Regions from separate parts of the Homo sapiens genome. Here region 1 is linked to region 2. Evidence: promoter capture Hi-C in human tissues and cell types (Jung and others, 2019). All regions are on one chromosome and are shown on one strand. The core of a region is centred on a gene start or on the middle of the fragment in contact, and the rest is flanking DNA. Distances in the headings are between cores, read along the strand shown. Region 1 has its middle 36 kb from the start of ZNF24TR. Region 2 holds the start of INO80C (INO80 complex subunit C).

Region 1 (2,701 bases), core at 19-2,518, 67 kb before region 2:
AAGTGACAGCAGGCCTGCTTCCTTTCTGGAGGCTCTAGGGGAGAATGTGTTTCCTTGCTTTTTCCAGTTGCTAGAAGCCACCACATTCCTTAGCTCATGGCCCCTTCCTTCATCGTCAAAGCCAACAATGGTACATGTCTCTGGCCATTTGTTTTGGTATTTACATTTTCCTTTCTGACTGTCTCTTTCACTTTTAAGGACCCTTAACATTATATTGGGCCCACTTGAATAATCTAGATTTTTCTCTCTGTTTTAACATCAGCTCACTAGCAACCGTAATTTCATCCACAACTTTAATTCTGCTTTGCCATGTAACCTAACACAGTCACAGGTACCAGGGATTAGGACATGAACATTTTTGAGGGGGTGTCTGCCACAGTCCCCTCCTCAATTATTTATCCATAGGTTTTAGGCATATGGTTAGGGGTAGGAGCCAGGAGATGCCAATAATAACAGGACTGGAAAAACCATGAGAGAAGGGATTCAAGTTCTGCATAAGAAACTTCAAGGAAAGTTTTCCAGTGTCACTATCATAAATAAAAGAGATATGAAATCTTCACAAAAAGGTGCAAGGCAAACTGAGAAACTCCTTTGCATGACTTGCCAGTCTTGGCTGCATTCAGAATTTGTTTGGAGAAGGAAAAGGCCCTTCCTTTTTCTCTCTAAACAGAGATTCAGTAATGCCAAATGGGCCCTCGTTGATGGAAAAAATCACTATGTAACTTTAAAAAAATTATAGAAATGTAAATCAGTGATGACAACAAGTCTTTGGCCCATCTGATAAGGTGGCTGGTGCCCACTGCTGGTGGCCTTTGCTGGGGCTCAAATAGAGAAGAGCCACCAGGATGAGGGTAGGGTCCCCAGCATCCCCTCTCTGTGAGTCAGCTTACAAAAGGCCATGTTGACTTGGATGTGAATCACGCCTATCTGTTCCAAGCAAGATTAAAAACCCAAGAAAATTATTGTTGAGCAAGGTGTTTTATGACTTTAGCTTACTTCCTTTTTTGAAACATTAGGAAATGTCAAAGTTAGTTTGTTCAGATTTATTAGAGAATGTGTGGAAAAGGGAAAACCTAAAAAACAAAACAAGAACAAAACCGCTTGTGGTTGGTTGACGCACAACTGTCTCTTGGGCATCATTTCTAGGCAAAGATTGTCATTTTGTAAACAAGGGTTTATCTCCCAGACTTCCTTGTTTTTGGATAGCTGATTGCCAGACATTGCTGGCACATGCATACTCACACAGTTATCTATACTTGTTCCTTGCTGCTTATTGCTCATGCTAAAACCTCTTGAATGTAAGGTTTTCAAACAGTAACATTTCCAAATACTAACACTTTGGCATTCTCACGTATATACTTTGTGTATTCGGAAGTTGTATTATTAACGTGGTGCAAACCTTGTGTTTAGTTTAATTAAACAGCAATGCTTTGCTATGTTTATTTCTTGGAGGGTGTGTGTGTGTGTGTACGTGTTCCATGCATGCCTCACATTTCTATTTGCATATGTGCATAAATCAAGAAAGCAACCAAATAAACAAACGCTGTTCTACTTCCCTACTAAAGTGACTTTTAAAGACTTATTGAATTATATTTTAGTGAATTTGAGTAAAGCATTTAAGTGCAGGGCAAATTAGAGCAAGCAAAACATTCGAGCATACATAACCATTTTATCTTGGCTCATGGCCCCTTCTTCATCTTCAAAGCCAACAATGGTGCATGTCTCTGGCCATTTGTTTTTGGGATTTAAATTTACATTAAAACAAATTTAAATTAAAATTTGTTTTAAATTTTAATTTAAAACAAAATTGTGGCCACAGCATGGATTGTGCTTCTATATTTATTTGCTCAGCTTCAAAAGTAAGACTAGTCCAGCCTTTATCCTGGGCAGGCTGTGGTCAACAAGCCACCAATCTCTTCAGTGGGGCCAATATCAGAGGACTGGCATGGGGACCTCAGATATCCATCAGGTTCCTCTCTCAGGAACATGGGAGCAGTGATCTTTTGGGGGGCCACATGGACACTGCATCCCCTGCCTTGGGCACTGGATGGTATTATCTTGCTGGAATTCCCTTCCAACTCTGCCAAGAATGTCTTTGAGACAGAGAGACTGATGGGAAGAAAGTGAGGAGGACCAGCTCTAATGAGGTTCAACTGCAGAGGTTTCAGTGTTGGTTGTGCTGTTTGACTTCACTGGGACCCCATCCTCCAGTTTCAAGCACTTCTCAGAACTCATGATTATTCCTCAATCTGAAACTTTAGAGAGGTTGGGGGACCACTTCAGACACCTAAGGGCAACAGAAAGGAAGCGCCGTGTGCCAGCACTCTACTGTCATTCGTGGTGAAAAGCTTCCTTCTCTTTCCTATTTTTTGTGGTTGGCAAAATATAAAAGGTCTTTCTACTTATTTCAAAAGGAAAAATAGAATGAGGGAGGGAGGGGGAGGTAAAGGCAGAAAGAGAGAGATCAGTTCATTTTTGTTTGGGGAAAACTTTTAGTCTATAACAGCAGCAAACATGTATTGTGGCAGTGGCCTCAGCCCTGCTGAAGGAAATCCAGGCCACATTAAAATCTGGGGAATTTGAAACGGCAGTGTTTGTAGTGGCCTGCAGATTTCCACTGGCAATTTCTTTAAAGCCAAAGAGTTATAATTAAAATAGAAATGGATCCAATTATTTCTGCCTCCTGTCTGAAAGGATGTAG
Region 2 (2,796 bases), core at 32-2,531:
GACTAAAGGCGTGCACCATCACGCCCAGCTATTTGTAAATTTGGATGGGGGTTGGGGAGCAGGTCTCGAACTCCTGTCCTCAAGCAATCCTCTCACCTTGGCCTCTCAAAGTGCTGGGATACAGGCGTGAGACAGGATTCTTGAAGATCTGTGGTTCAGCCAGTATTCTTGAAAATTTGTGCATTGTACTCTGTGTAAATCTTACTATAGCAAAGTATTTAATATTAAAAGGTTAAAATAAAAAGCACTACCAATCACCTACAGAAGAAGGAACAAGATTTCTAGAACAGCCACTGACTGACTGGGTGAACGGTGGTGTCACACCATATGCTGAGGAGCACAAAGTAACACACTCTATCTCTGCTTTTTTGCTTTGAATAAAATGCAGGAGCCAGAGAAAACACTAATCAAGCCACTCCCTGCTGAAAATTCATTGCTGGAATTACGGAACCTAGATTGTTCAGAGGCCCTGACGTCTGAGCCAGGCGCTGAGCTCAGTGCCTTTACACTCATTACTTCATAACCTTAACAAGCCCATGAGTTAAGACCAAACCTGCCTTTGGATTGGGAAACCCAGGGTCAAAAAAGCACTTTTCTCAGGATGAGAGAAAGCATACTTATCAATACATCTTGTATTCATCCATGCAGGACATTACAGCGCTATGCGCCTCAAAGACACTGGGTAGATGTCTGCAGAATGGACGAGGGGAAGACACGCAAATTTCTGAATGACTGACACTCATTAGTCCTGAACCTCATGCTAAAGGCGACCTCGAGGGGAAGAGGCAGTCCTTCTATTAATACTAAGTCAGTAATAACCTCCCTACTTCTTCTTCTCTCCTTACAACACAAGGCGTTGTAAGCCCATGTGTCCAAACGAAGGGAAAGAGTAGTCATTCACTCCGCGGGGCAGCGTCTTTCAACCCCAACGGAGACCGCACGCGCAGCGCCCCACATTACGCACGCGCCCTGGCTCGGCTCCGCCCCGCCAAGTCCCGTTTCGCGACGCGCACGCGCAGCCTGGGAGCGCGACTGCGTACCTGCGCAAAGCTGGAAGCGGACGCTTTTTTCTTCTTACTGGCGCCATAGCCCCCGCCGCTGCTGCCATTGTGGGAAGGGCTGGCCGGCCTCTTCTTGCTGTTCCGGACTATTCCGGGAGTGGAAGTGGTGGCCACAATTGGAATTTGCGCCGCCATCGCACTCCGAGTCTTCCCCTGGTCCCCCCACCTTTTTCCCAGCGCGGGCCTTGGAACTTCCTTTCCGCTGTTACTTCCGTCTTGATGCTTGAAAACCCGGCCTGGACTCCAAGCTGTAGCTGGCTTCTCTCGGTGCAATCTAAAAGGCGGAGCTCGGAGTAGCCTGTGCCGTCGGGACGGGAAGATGTCAGCGGGCGTTGTCCTGCCACTCGGGCGCTCTGGGCGTGGGCCTTGGGTGGGGCACGTGCCTGGAAATCCCCATTGATAGAGGAATAGAAAATCTCCCAATCTTTTTAAGTAACTACGTTTTAAAAAATTAATGAGCGTGTTGTCTTTTCTCATATAGAAGAGTGATTACTTTTGATGTCTGTAAGCCTAAAGCTGGGGTCGTTCTCAGTAGACCGCCAAGCTACTGGCTTCTCCCTCTATCCCTCCCTGCCTTCCCACGCGGAAAAGGTTTGTATATAAATAGCGCCCAAATGGACATGAAGGGTAGAGTGGTTCTTAATCTCTCCCTTTTTTTTTTTCTTTTATTTGAGACGGAGTTTCGCTCTTGTTGTCCAGGCTGGAGTGCAATGGCGCGATCTCGGCTCACTGCAAACTCCGCCTCCCGGGTTCAAGCGATTCTCCTGCCTCAGCCTCCCGAGTAGCTGGGATCACAGGCATGTGCCACCATGCCCGGCTAATTTTGTATTTTTAGTAGAGACGGGGTTTCTCCATGTTGGTCAGGCTGGTCTCGAGCTCCCGACCTCAGGTGATCTGCCCGCCTCGGCCTCCCTAAGTGCTGGGATTACAGGCGTAAGCCACCACGCCCGGCCGGTTCTTAATCTCTTAGGATTCACAGACTCTTGAGCATGGAATCTGTGCTTCCTATCCCTGCCGCACACCCCCACCTCCCCACCACCCCATTAAATGTATACAGACACAGACAAAATTTTACAGATTTCAGGGAGGTCACAGATCTACTAAAACCTATTTAGGAACCTGAGTCCCCCTACCCGCCTTGTTCTTTGCCTCATTCTACCCTATATTTTTACAGAACCTTTGCGACATCATATAACTAAATGATTTATAATCGGATGGTTAATGTCTTTTTTGGCTCCTGCTAGAATGTAATCTGTATGAGGGAAGGGTCAGTTATGTCTTGTTAACTTATCAGTCCCCCCAATCACAGTACCTTGCAAGTCATTGGTGCATTATAAGTATTTTTAATGATGTATTTAACGAATGAACTAACTCCCTGCAGTGATTGGTGGAAGCTACTATGTTTGAATACAGGAAGTTGATGTATATGAGTCTTGATATTTGAAATAAACAGGCTGCACAATGACTTAGAGGTGAGAGAGAAGGAGCAGTTAGGGAAACTTGCAATATTGTTACTGACATATTTTTTCCTTTAGAGAAAGGAATAAGCCTACCAGTGTTGAAATGTTCTTTCCCACACCCCATCTCCATCCCTATCCTCATCTAAAGCTAGTCTTTTCCTCATTCCTTAACTCAAGGACTCACCTCCAACAAGCCAGTCACCTAAGCAAACTCTACTGTCCCCACCTCCTCCCATTCCTCACCTCCTCAGCTCGCTTCTCTCCTTCACGGCTCC

Evidence for each region. The method cuts DNA at HindIII sites, captures the fragments that hold promoters and counts their contacts. A contact is called where the count stands out against the background at its distance.
Region 1: a fragment that was not itself captured here is called in contact with the fragment with the promoter of INO80C in region 2 in 2 of the 25 tissues and cell types used here (IMR-90 fibroblasts and liver).

Annotation. Positions count from the first base shown.
Region 1 is chr18:35,430,058-35,432,758 of GRCh38, forward strand. No RefSeq gene overlaps it. Among named protein-coding and RNA genes, the nearest start is that of ZNF24TR, 36 kb to the right of the region's middle. RefSeq lists a silencer at 2,166-2,379. The HindIII fragment of the contact is 7,027 bases long and covers 1-2,701 here.
Region 2 is chr18:35,496,679-35,499,474 of GRCh38, forward strand. It overlaps INO80C (INO80 complex subunit C), which reads right to left and starts at 1,282. Exons shown (of 5, transcript NM_194281.4): 1 at 1,041-1,282. The coding sequence starts at 1,196. RefSeq lists enhancers at 300-449, 720-839, 1,190-1,459. The HindIII fragment of the contact is 7,991 bases long and covers 1-2,796 here.